Linked DNA regions of Homo sapiens: region 2 is linked to region 1. Evidence: promoter capture Hi-C in human tissues and cell types (Jung and others, 2019). All regions are on one chromosome and are shown on one strand. Each heading gives the region's core, a stretch centred on a gene start or on the middle of the fragment in contact. The rest is flanking DNA. Distances are from core to core; before and after follow the strand shown.

Region 1 (6,712 bases), core at 3,986-6,485:
ATGCCAACTGTAATCTTTTACACCAGGTTTGAAAAATGACATGCTAATATCCTTCTAGAGTTCTATTCTAATTAACTTATCAAGAGGCACGTGGGCAAACCAGGTTGTGTAGATAGGGAAGCAACATTTCTTGAGGCCCAAGCGCAGGCAGGCTTGCCTTCTGCCCACAGACGAGTGTGCTTTCAGTAGACAAGCTAATTTGATGGGACAGCCAGGGAAGGTTGGGGATGTGACCTGATCAGAAGACAGGTGATGAACTTCCTTTTCTCTGCCTGGTGAATTCCATACTCCTCCTTCGAGACACAACTCAGATGTCATCATTCCTGGAAGTCTTTCACTGGAGTAGCAATAAAGGCAGCCTCCAAAGGGCTTTCAAAAATTTCCCCCAAACTGCTAGTACACTGTGATTTTTTTTTATTGTTGTTTGATTTTTTTATTGTTGTTTCTTTGGTTTGTTTCTGAGTCTTCTTTGCCTGCTGGCAAAGTAAACTCCAATACGGCAGGGGCTGAGCCTCATTTGTTTCTGAAAACCTGATATCTGGCTCATAGTAAAAACAAATAATGGCCTGTTAAATGATGAATAAATGAATGAGAAAAGAATGTGCAGTCTTTAGAATGTTTGAAAAATATTGAGGAGAGAGGAAATCTGTGGCAAGAGATCATAAGTCGGCTGACTCTGGGCATGCTGCCTATGAGCTAGCCCTGTTCTGCAAGGGGCAGTTAAAAAAAAAAGAGATCATATCTCAATAGCAAATTTTGCTTAAGCTGCATATTTCACAGACCTAGAGCAGAAGTTAAATCTATTGGAGTCACCAGATTGCTAATTATGGATAGTAAAAATTATAAGCCCGAAATATTTTAAATTAAGCCTTGAATAACATTAAGGTAAGACCAAAGGTGGCAAGCTTCAACCTCAGGGACTTCAAAGGAATGAGAAACATTGAGGTCTTGACAAATGATTTGAGAATGTAAATCCCTGAACTAGCTTTGAACATCATGTTATAGAAGGTGAGAAAGATGGCTGGAGAATCCTGACCAGTCAGACATCTCAAAGGATGGTCAGAATAAAAAGAATAGGAGGTTGAATGGAAGGTCTGCCTTGCCAGGTTTATAATTGATTCCATATGTTACCATCATGAATAGGAATTCTGATTAGTAATGTTCGATATAAATTATCCGATTATTTCCCAGATATTTTACTGTGAACTTGACATTTTTATGAACTTCAATTTTTATAGTCATATAACCCTTAACCTTAAGATATTTTATGAATTTAAACTTATGCTATCCAGGCCAGGCACAGTGGCTCACACCTCTAATCCCAGCACTCTGGAAGGCCGAGGTGCATGGATCACTTGCGGTCAGGAGTTCGAGACCAGCCTGGCCAACATGGTGGAACCCTGTATCTCCTAAAAAATACCACAGTGAGACTGTAATCCCAGCTACTCAGGAGGCTGAGGCATGAGAATGGCTTGAACCTAGGAGGCGAAGGGTGCAGTGAGCTGAGATCACACCACTGCGCTCCAGCCTGGGTGACAGAGCAAGACTCTGTGCTGGGAGCCGAAGGCCCATGGGATGTGACCAACTCAGCATTCCACTGGAGACGATATGATCAAACAGCAAACTGTTTATCATGAATGCAGGATGTGAGCAAACTCACGAGTGCTCCTGCCGACAGAGGGTTTGCTGGAGGCAATCACTCCCTAGCGCTGAGGTTATCTACTGTGACATCTAGAGCCTGTTGTTTGAGGAATGAAGTCTTGCAAGCCTACTCTGGACTAAGCAGCTGACCCCTTCTTCCACCCCCCTTCTCACCATCTCTTTTGCCTAATAAATACAGAGGGCTGTGTACAGCTCAGGGCCTTCGTCCACTAGAGGCAAGGTGCCCCCTGACCCCTTCTTCCAAGTATACTCTTTTGTCTCTTGTCTTTTATTCCCACATTCACCCCTCCTTTGTTCAGTCCACCAGGGATTGTGGCAGGTTACATAGGGGCCCCCCAAACAGCAACAGAATCTGGTGCTCCACAACTCTGTCTCAAAAAAAAAAAAATGCTATCCAACTTGGTAACTACTAGCCACATGTGGCTATCAAGCACATGAAATATTGCTGGTCTGAATTAAGATGTGCTGTAAATGTAAAATATGTGCTGTATTTTAAAGAGTATAAAAAGATAAAATATTTCATTAATAATTTTAGCATATTTTGTATATATTGAAATAAAATATAGTATTGAAATTAAATTCATGTGTTTCATTTCACCTTTTAATATGGGTAGCAGAAAATTTTAAATTACATATGTGGTTTGCATTATATTTCTATTTGATGACACTGGTATAGAGCAATGGTTCCCAACTAAGGATGACTTTGCCCCGAGGGGAAATCTGGCAGCATCTAGAGACATTTTTGCTTGTCACAACTGGAGCTAGTGCTACTGGCATCTAGTGGATGGTGGCCAGGGATGCTGCTAAAAATCCTACAACATATAGGACAGCCCTCCACAACAAACAGTTATCCAACCCCAATGTCAACAGTGCAGAGACCGAGAAACCCTGCTATAGAGAATGGTTAAAGAATGGACTCTACCTGGGCACAGTGGCTCATGCCTGTAATCCCAGCACTTTGAGAGGCTGAGGCAGGAGGATCACTTGAGCCCAGGAGTTCCAGACCAGCCTAGGTAACATAATGAGAACGCATCTCTACAAAAATGTAAAAATTAGGCAGGTATGGTGGTGTGTGCCTGTAGTCCCAGCTACTCAGGAGGCTGAGGTGGGAGGATCTCTTGAGCCTAAGAGGCCAAGGCTGCAGTGAGCCGTGATTGCACCACTGCACTCCAGCCTGGGTGACAGAGCAAGGCTGTCTCTAAAAACGAAACAAAACAAAACAAGAATGGATTCTAGAGTCAGAATGCCCAGTTTAAATACCATTTACTAGCTTTGCAACTTTGGGCAAACTCCCTAACATCTCTTTGATTCATACTCATCTATAAAATGTACCAATAACAGTAACTCCTTCACAGGGCTTGGGGGGATTAAATCAGCTAAGACGTTTAAGGTACTTAGAACAGAGCCTGGCACATAGTATGTGCTCAATAAGTATTAGACGATACGAAAGTTTTATTTACTCTATTTCATAAAAATTTTCTCATTAACTTTGTTATAGCTAACTCTCTACAATTTTGCCAATCTTGTTATAACTAACCTATTTTTATTTTAAAAACTTTTAAAATTTCCTTAAGTCGGGAAAAAGCAATCTTCTATCATGCATAGGTTGTAAATACAAACAGATATTATAGCAGAATCATTATTAAAGCACATCAGAAACACAACCTTCTTTTTTATTTTATTTTATTTTTTTTTGAGACAGGGTCTCTATTGCCCAGACTGGAGTGCAGTGATGGAATCTCAGCCCACCACAACCTCTGCCTCCGGGTTCAGCTATTCTCCTGCCTCAGCCTCCCGAGTAGCTGGGATTACAGTCGCGTGCCACTACCGCGCAGCTAATTTTTGTATTTTTAGTAGAGACGGGGTTTCACCATGTTGGTCAGGCTGGTCGTGAACGCTTCTCATGCAAAGCTCCTCACCCAGGTTTGCCTTAAGCAGGAGGTCCCAGTGTTTCAGCCCAGTAAGTACCTGTGATGTCAAAATGCTGTGATACTTACATATGGAAGCAGAAATCCCAGTCGATGTCATTGCTAACAGTTGGGATACGGATGGGGCTGGCTTGCATCTTCTTCCTACCAAGAATCAGGTAAGGTCAGCTTTGAGAGAAAAGGCTGGGTGTCTGTTCTATTTTCCCCCTCTGGTTTGCTATTAACATTAAACTAAAACTGCTCAAATATATAACCCATCCTAAATCCACAGACTACGCATACTTAGATATGGAGACCGCTGGAAAACAGACATTTGCCAAATTAAATGTCTAAGTTAAATTTCTTTCCCCTAATTTCAACTCCACCCTACTTCTCCAAAATCCCTGGCCTTTATGTCTCAAAGCAAGCACATTTACAGTTCCTGGGTCATCAAAACTATGGTCACCTACTTAACTCAGATATTGTTTTTGCAGGTCTGACGGCGTGTTGGATTTAAGCAAAGCAACCAACTCTCAGTGGTAAACGAAGCACAGCCAGTGTATTGGTTAATTCTGCTTTCCCCCCCCCCCCCGGGGTCATTTCACTAATTAATAGCAGATTCTAGTACAGGGGTCACGAGGCGGGTACAGAGGCTCACGCCTGTAATCCCAGCACTGTGGGAAGCCGAGGCGGGTGGATCACCCGAGTTCAGGAGTTCGAGACCAGCCTGGCCAACAGGGTGAAACCCCGTCTCTACTAAAAATACAAAATATAGTCGGCTGTGGTGGTGCACGCCTGTAGTTCCAGCTACTCGGGAGGCTGAGGCAGGAGAATCGCTTGAACCCGGGAGGCGGAGATCGCGCCACTGCACTCCAGCCTGGGCGACAGAGCGAGACTCCGTCTCAAAATAAAATAAAACAATAAAATGAAATTCATGTGTCTGTTTTAGTTGTTGCTGTTAGATGATAGGAGAAACCTCGGAAGCACAAAACGAAAAATGTGATTTCTAAATACAGTATTTGTGAAATTCAACTCTCAAGGAAGGCTATGCCAGTCGCTTAAATCAAACCCAAATCGAACGCAGTTACTTATTGAATGTTAACATCCACCAAGTCGCCTCTCCTTTCACCCTCCAGAATCACTAATTCCCACCGAGCCCTGAGTGGCTTTCTGACCCAGGCTCCAGAGCATCCATTATCCGAAAATCAGAAAGGGAGAGTCACTAATTTCTCTTTTTAACCTCCACTTTAAACACTATGCCCACAGCAAAGAGTTCTGATCTCTCAAACTCCCGGACTCTGTTCCTATGACGTTCCGCACGGCCCTGAGCCCCTCAAGGACGAATCGCTCCTCTTTTCCCGCTGTGGTTCTGCGGCAAGTCTGTAAGCCCTGACGCCGCAGGTCGAGCTCTGAGAGCCTCTCTGCCGCGGAGGCTCTAAGAGAACGCGCGAGTGCGCAAAGGGCACCTGGCTCAAGGCGGAGAAACCACGCCCCGGAACCAGCCTCCCAGCTCCCTGAGCCCGACGGCGCGGCTTCCTCCCGCTGCGTCGGCCTCCTGACCCTGGCGCACCTCGGTCCGGGCGCCAAAGCGGTGCCTCGCGAAAGCTGCACAGCCTGCGACGTCCCCAGTTACCTTCCGCAGCCCAGGTCCGGCCAAGGAGACAATACCGTTGCCATGGGAACGGAACGCTACGGGTTCTGCTGGGAGCGCCTGTAGCCATGGCGACGCGGGGCACTTCCGGTTCGGAGAGTCCCTGTTGTCTGGCGCCTACAGCAGCCCTTGCCTTACCCTCCGCTTTCCCTTCCCCGCAGGTTAGACGCGCCCGGCCTCCGGCTCGCCCCAAAACTGGCCTCTGCATATTGTATCTCACGAGACCTTACCCCTCGGAGGTGAAGGCGTAGGAAGAGAAGATACATTCCGTCCAAGGATGGAAGGGAGCGCCGGGCCCCACGGCCCTACTTATTTAAAGCTGCGACGTGTGCGGGCTGTATTCGGCGACGATCCTGGCCACGGTGCACCCCCACAGCTCCTCGGGAGTTTTGTTTTTATGGACCCCAGAGGAAAGGCTTAGATATGGCTGTTGACTGTGCTGGCACCGTCTGTGTTACCCAGTAAGATTGGAGCTAGGCATGGTTAGGAAAGCTGATTGCAGGAAGAGAGTAGGGTAAGAAATCGACTACTAGATCTGCTAATGGTTAGCTGTTCATTATTTATTTAGCACTTAGCCCTAAATAATGCAGCCATATCTTACCCTTTCGTTGGCATGGAATACAGTGTGTGTAATACACACAAGGTGCAGAGGCAATTGTGGCCATACCCAAAGAAACAGCGCCAGCTCTTGCAACGCTATGTTGAAGGATGTTATTATGAACCCTATCATAGACTAGGCCTATGGCAAGTCAAGTTGGAGTGAATGTGTCCCAGTTGTTTTCAGAAAAGAGCAGACTAGGTAGAGAGACAAGGAGAACATTGAGAATGTGAAAGATGGTGTTTACGTTTGGTGTTTGTTATTTCCAGCTCTAGGCTGGAAGTTTAATTGCCATTGATCCAAGACTGCCAAGAAAGCCTTTTTGGAGTTAGGTTGGAGGAGTTATTTAAATGAGTTTGCTTGAATATCTCTTAAGTAAAACCTGTATGGTCTGTTAACTCAAGATTTAAATCTGTACTTTCGAGCTCCATAGTCACAATTTTGGAAAGATTCCCCCACTTTATTCTTTTTCCTAAGAAAACTCTCAGCATGGAACAATGATGACAGCAATGAACCTGATTTCAGAATGTCAAGGTTCTGGTTTTGACTCTGTAGCCTGGGCCGAGTCACGGCCAGTGGGTCCCAATTTTCTTGCCTATACGGTGAAAGTTTTTGTACCACTTGCTTTCTGAAGCGCCTTCTGGTTCCAGGTTTCTGTAAGGGGTAAACGATTTTTGTGACTCTATGAACAGTATTTAACATGTATGGGAGTAAAAAGGAAGAACCTGTTTCCTGTTCTCCAACATTTATTTCTTTTACCCCTTGTTAAGTTGGTCATCAAATTGAAAGGTTTTAATGTTCTTTCATTCTAGGAAATGGCTGTGAGATTGTTTCTAAGTATATTAAAGGTAATGTCTCTTTTCTAAACCTTTGCTTTTGCTGATAATTGTGGAG
Region 2 (6,475 bases), core at 1,508-4,007, 380 kb after region 1:
AAGCCAAGGCTCATCGTTCCCCACTTAGGATCTGAACATTCAGAATTATGGAGATTAACCATAGCTATGACTGGTATGAGAGTTTGGGCTGGGGAAAGTGTTATAAGTAAATCCACCTTGTCACCTCAAAAACTAAGACAACAGATTGATTCACATTACTATTCCCACATAGCCAAAAATATCACTATGGCAATCATCAGAAGGTCAATTCAAAGATGGGACAGTAAAGATTATGAGGACTTATACCCCCCTGTTGCTAATGTCCCCCCACCACCTGCCATACAACCTATTCCCCCCACTCCACATTCACAAAAAAGAGTACCATCCCAAAATATATATACTATCTACATGGAGTCTAACAAAACTATACCACTTAAAAGTTGTGTTAAACCACCACATATGTTATTAGTAGGAAAGATGCATATTAGTCCAAAAACCAACATAATTACCTGTGTTGTTAGTTGTATACTTGTATTGACTCATCCTTTAATCAATTATCATAGTATTTTAATAGTCAGAGCCAGAGAAGATATTTGGCTCCCCATAGCTTTACATAGGCCTTGGGAATCTTCCCCTTCTATCCATGTTATTAACAATATTCTACAAAAAATTCTTAAAAGGAGTAAACAATTTATTTTTACATTAATTGCAGTAATAGTGGGCTTGATTGCTGTTACTGCAAATGCTGCTACTGCTGGAGTTGCATTACATCAATCTATTCAAACTGTTCATTTTGTGAATCAATGGCAAAATAATTCTACTTGGATGTGGAATTCTCAGGTATTGATCAAAAATTGGCTAATCAAATTAACGATCTAAGACAAACTGTTATATGGATGGGAGATAGAATTATGAGTTTAGAACATAGATTACAAATGCAATGTGATTGGAATACTTCTGATTTTTGTATAACTCCGTTCCAATATAATGAGTCTGTTCACAATTGGGAATCAGTAAAACGCCATTTACAAGGAAGTGAAGATAATTTAAGTTTAGACGTAAGCAAGCTAAAAGAACAGATTTTTGAGTCATCTCAAGCACACTTAACTGCTTTACCCAGTGCTGAAGTTTTAGACAGTATCTTTGAGGGGTTATTTAATCTCAACCCCATTCAATGGGTAAACTCTTTGGGAGGATCCACTATCATTAATTTTGTTCTGTGTATAATTTGTGCTATTGGTTTATTGTTCATGTGTAAAATTGGAAAAAATATTCTTCAATCCAATTGTGATCAGTGCCAAGCTATGATTGCTATGGTTCATTTAAATCAGAGAAAAGGGGGAGATGTAGGGAGACCCCATGAAACTATCGCTATGGAATAAAAGATGAAATGCTCCTGATTATTGTAAATACAAAATTGCATGGAGGATTGTATAAAGACAATGCCAGGTTGGGCTGCCAAAATAAGCCAACAGCATGTGATGTGCTTCCCCCTGCAGAGAGCCTATAAATGGACATGCAGTCAGGGAGGTTTCACATCACCAAGATTCCTATCCCAGAAAAGCAGATGTTCATATCTCTGGGAATGGAATGTGACCCTTGTGGAGAGCCTATAAACGGATGCATGAGGGGTGCCTGTTCATATGGATAAGATAGGGCTATAAACACCCCATCTTTCCATGGCTCTTCTAGGTCTCTTTAGGGTTGAGACATACTCCCTTCTGAGAATCTGTGGTCTAACCAGTTGTCTAGTTTCACATCCTACTTCTATTGATTGTTTGCAACCAGCTTTTGCTGCAATTATTACTACTGATTAGTATCTTACTAAACATAGGTTATGGATAGACTGTGTTTCCGTTTTAAGGCTCTGTTAGAAATTGCTGATGCACACACTATATTGTAAATTCTTAGCTCTGCATACTGTGCTTCTGCATACTGATGTTATGTTAAAGAATTACTTCATCCCTATGTGACCACCTCACCTCATAATCAAATGACCTTAAATCCCTCACTAACCTACCCCCACCCTCACTAAACTTAATAATAAATGCTGGTATATCCAGTGCATTGGCGGCATCTCAGTGGTGACCCCCTGGACTCAGCTTTCACTAACTTGTGTGTGTCTTTTATTTCTTGACCTCCCGATCCACCTGGGAACAAAGAAAGAGCCCCTTTGTTGCTAGCCAGATCCCGCAATAGGCACGGGGGTTACAAAACTATAAACCAAGTCCAAAAGAGAATGATCTTTACTTGCATAAAATTTAGCGAGTAAGACATTGATTGGTTTAATAAAAATAGCTACATCTTGAATTATTTAGTAAAATTACTGTAACTTCTAGTCTTATGGCTTTAGGCAGCCTAGTCCACAGGCAGTAAGGAGGTTTGTTTTGGGAAGGGAGTGTTATTTTTGTTTCAAAGCTAAACTACAAACTAAATTCCTCCCAAAGTTAGTTGGGCTTATGCCCAGGAATGAGCAAGGACAGCTTGGAAGTTAGAAGCAAGATGGAGACATTTAGGTCATATCTTTCTCATGGTCTCAGTTATAACTTTGCAATGGTGAGTTTCATAACTTTAAATGATGACTGTCACAGATTTCTTAATCTAGGTAAGTGATTAAAATAAAATAATTAGGTAAATGTAATAGAATAAATACTTGTAGATGAGCTCTTCATAATTTAGAATCTAAAGTTATAGTAAATTAAATAATAAATATTTCATTATTTGGGTATTTTCCAATAAAAATATATTGTAGGAAAACCTTTTTTCTAAAAAAGTGTCCTTTTTAAAAACGTGAACAATTTTGTCTAATTTAAAGCTTATTTAAAGGTTATATATAAAACAAGGTAAAAAGAACCAGGAAATAAGAGAGATGTAAAGCAAGTTATAGAAATAAAGAGACATTTTTGAGTAAGAAAGCTTAAAGAGAAATAATTTTATATGAGAAAGAATCTTGTATGGTAAATTTAGTCCTAGAATAAAATGTCTGGTTTTTTAAGAAAGAGAAATGTTCAGGACGAACCAGAAAGTCCAAACATGTCATGAATGGTCTGCGTAAGTCACAATAAGAGGATTTACTAAAACAGACTTTTATGTGATCAAGTTGTCTATTATTAAAGAGAAATTATAATGGTCCTTCTGGAGACTGGGTTTAATATAAAAAAACGCTTATACACTAAAGAATTGGTTAGAGCAATGAAATCTTCTTAAGGGACTGATTTACTCTTAATAAATTATAATAGATTTTAATTTTTTTAACCCAAAGTTCAATTTTTATTGCATCTCACTCTTTTCAGTTTTCTCTCCCCTCTTTAAAAGGCATGAAATAATAACACTTTCCTTCAACTCATTTTCAGCTCATATAAGATTTTTTCCCCCCTAAAGCTCTGTTCATTGTGGCCTGATGCTAATAACGTTTTCTTAAAGGCTAAAGGAAATGTTTTCTTCCAACATAATATTCTGTGCACTGCAGAAGGTCTTTTCTTTTGCCTTTTGCTAACTGGCCCAACAGATTTTACATTTTATTGAAATAATTCTAATGTCATTATTATTAAGTTTTGGTTTGCTTAGAAAAAAGATATTAAAATTTTTTTTAAATTGAGGTTGTTACATCTGTGTATCTTTCTGTATGTGCTTTTAAAGTCCTTGTGACATTGAGTTACAGGGCTTTGACTCTGGGTCTAAAAACAACACCAAGTCCTGTTAAATCTTAAACACTGACAGCAATTAAAGCCTTACTATCAGGCCTGGTAGAAGATGCCAATAAAATAAACTGCATTTCTGAGACACAGGGCCGGAAATTAAAGCTATTCAACTCCTCAAGGCCCAGAGACTATCATGGAAGAGGTGGTCATGTGAGATTTAAAGAACCAATTTTGAGAAATAAAATAAGTTCAGTTTTTCTGTGAATTAACCATTAATGTCAAAGATACAGCAATACAAGACCAGCATATGGGCCCCTGTGTCAGATTAACAAAGTTTTCTTGAAACATTAATGGACTCCTCAATAAAGGTTAAAAGTTTTATGGAAGTTATATCTTATAGTCAAGGTTAAAATTTTATAGATTGTTTATAAAATTTTGGAAAACAAATTTAATTGGCTTTGTGCTGTTTTTATTAGGGCTTATTTTTAGGAAAATTAAGTCTCCTCTCTCAAAGAATGAAGGTTTCACCTTTTTTGAAATCATTGAGTTATCACTTTGTGACTGTGATCCTCTTTTGTGATATCAAGTGTTTTAAACCTTTTATATTTGACAACCTTTCCAAAATCAAATTATAAATTATGTATTTTTCTGACCTAATTAGTCATTTAAGATATTAGATTCCTAAAGTCCAAAAGTGACACATTTGGCTTATTTCGTATAAAAATTATACAGGAAGCATTGTCAAATAAGAAATAGTATTTGGTTTTCTTTGGGCTGTATTTGTATACATATGTTATTTGTATGTGTTCCAAAATTATGGAAAACTCCTATAATTCTGATATGACTTAGTGTACATTATCAGTAATAATTATAATTGTTACATTAAATTATTGTGTACTACATAGGTAACAAATTTTCTTGTCAATTGTGTCTGTGACTATGGCTGCCCTAAAACTTTTTGTCATCCATGGGCAATTACTGTCTTGTTTTGGTCCTCTTTAGAAGGTGGTTTTATAATCAGCTATAAAACTCTAACAGTTACTCTTGAATGCAAGATTCTGATAACTTTGGAGATTGTGACTTCAGAATAAAGGAAAAACTTTCAGGACTCATGGAGAGTTGAAATGTTCATTAATATCAAGCAGAACAGAAGATAACAAAGTTATCTTCATGGACTGAACTAATAGAAGACTAAAGGAATCTTTTTGACTTTTTGCTTAAAATGTTGCTGATCCTTTATTTTTTGGAGTCAAGGAAGCTTTTCTTTTGAGCTATTGACAGCTTTTAACAATTTAATATACTCCTATGGACAAAATTCAGAGCATATTTGTTTCTCTCTACCTGATTTCTCTGGAATTTGGAAACTGTGAGTATTCTTAACTTATGGCAATATAGTTTTTTACATAAGTGCAATAAGAATCTGTTTTGAGTTGTAGCAGGATACAATTGGAGAAACTGGTTATTTTACCAAAGCTTTGGCTGGAATGGTATGCTTTCCTTTAAGGAATTGAAATTGACTTAGCCAATAAAAGCCACTTGGGAAAACTGGCCTCATACCTTGTCTACACAGTCTCTGTACAGGGTCAAAATGTCACAGAATGTACAGAATGTCACTTCCTGACAAGTCCAGAGCCCCCAGTTATCTTGGGACCTCAAGAGTAGAAGAATTCATCCAACTTATACGTATTCGATTGTACAAATTCACAGCTGGGCTCGGCTTAAAAAAGTCTTATCTGAGATTCCTTCTGTAGAACAATGTTCCATCAAAGCCAATTTTAAAAGCCTATGTGAAAAATAATTACTCTTGCTGCACTTTATAAAAATAATCTGGCCAAGTATAATAAAGCAAATTGGTCCTACCATGATTTGTCTTTAGTAAAAATGGGAAACTGGAGAGAGAAAAATTATGTTTCAAAAAGCTATATAGTACACCAGTTGTTAGAGTCCAGTCTTGCCTAATGTTTTTCAGTTTTTACTATTTTCTACAATTTGGACTGAATTTTAATATTTCCTGGCTAAAATGTTTCCAAAATACTGTTTTCAATTTTTCTTTCTTCCTTTTTTTCTTCCATTTTTCCTAATTTGAAATCACTGAAAACTAAGTTGTGCTTTCTTAAAGCCCTGTGAACTGAATCTAGACAACTTAAACTTCAGAAGAAAATAACAGTAACCTATTTACATATGTAAGCCATTTTCAAACTACCTACTGATGTGTGGACTTCAGAGTAATGTGGCCTGTATTAATTTTCCAGGATTGTTCTTTTGTTTGCTGTTCTTTTTCTCCCTTCTTCCCCCTATTTTTTTCTTTGCCTTTTCTTTCTTTCTTTCTTTTTTTGAGATGGAGTTTTCACTCTTGCTGCCCAGGCTGGAATGTGGTGGCATGATCTTGGCTCACTGCAACCTCCACCTCCTGGGTTCAAGCAATTCTCCTGCCTCAGCCTCCCAAGTAGCTGGGATTACAGATGCCATGCACTGCTCCTGGCTAATTTTTGTATTTCTAGTAGAGACGAGGTTTCACCATATTGGCCAGGCTGGTCTTGAACTCCTGACCTCAGGTGATCCACGTACCTCAGCCTCCCAAAGTGCTGGGCTTACAGGTGTAAGCCACTGCAGCCAGCCATCTAGCCTCCCCCTATTTTTTCTTCACAGAACATGAAACTTCTCAACCTACTAAAAATGAGCTTTCCTAATAACTCATGACCTACCAGTCTAGGAAGAAACCATCCTAGCTGTGAGAGATCAGATGAAACCTCAGACCAGAGACTCATTTTCTTCTAAAATGCTTTCTCCAAAAGAGTATATTTATTTATTTATTTTTAATTGTATTTTTTTATGTTCCAGGGTACACGTGCAAGATGTGCAGGTTTGACACATAGGTAAACATGTGCCATGGT

What was found. The method cuts DNA at HindIII sites, captures the fragments that hold promoters and counts their contacts. A contact is called where the count stands out against the background at its distance.
Region 2: a contact is called between a fragment that was not itself captured here and the fragment with the promoter of TTC23L in region 1, in 1 of the 25 tissues and cell types used here (aorta).

What each region holds. Positions count from the first base shown.
Region 1 is chr5:34,837,687-34,844,398 of GRCh38, reverse strand. It overlaps TTC23L (tetratricopeptide repeat domain 23 like), which reads right to left and starts at 5,235. Exons shown (of 11, transcript NM_144725.4): 1 at 5,140-5,235; 2 at 3,660-3,734. The coding sequence starts at 3,727. TTC23L-AS1 (TTC23L antisense RNA 1) reads left to right here and starts at 5,067. Exons shown (of 2, transcript NR_183259.1): 1 at 5,067-5,216; 2 at 5,382-6,712. LOC124900959 (a long non-coding RNA gene) reads left to right here. Exons shown (of 2, transcript XR_007058729.1): 2 at 1,293-2,241. RefSeq lists an enhancer at 4,836-4,945. The HindIII fragment of the contact is 9,286 bases long and covers 383-6,712 here.
Region 2 is chr5:34,456,621-34,463,095 of GRCh38, reverse strand. No RefSeq gene overlaps it. Among named protein-coding and RNA genes, the nearest start is that of RAI14-DT, 200 kb to the left of the region's middle. The HindIII fragment of the contact is 4,380 bases long and covers 568-4,947 here.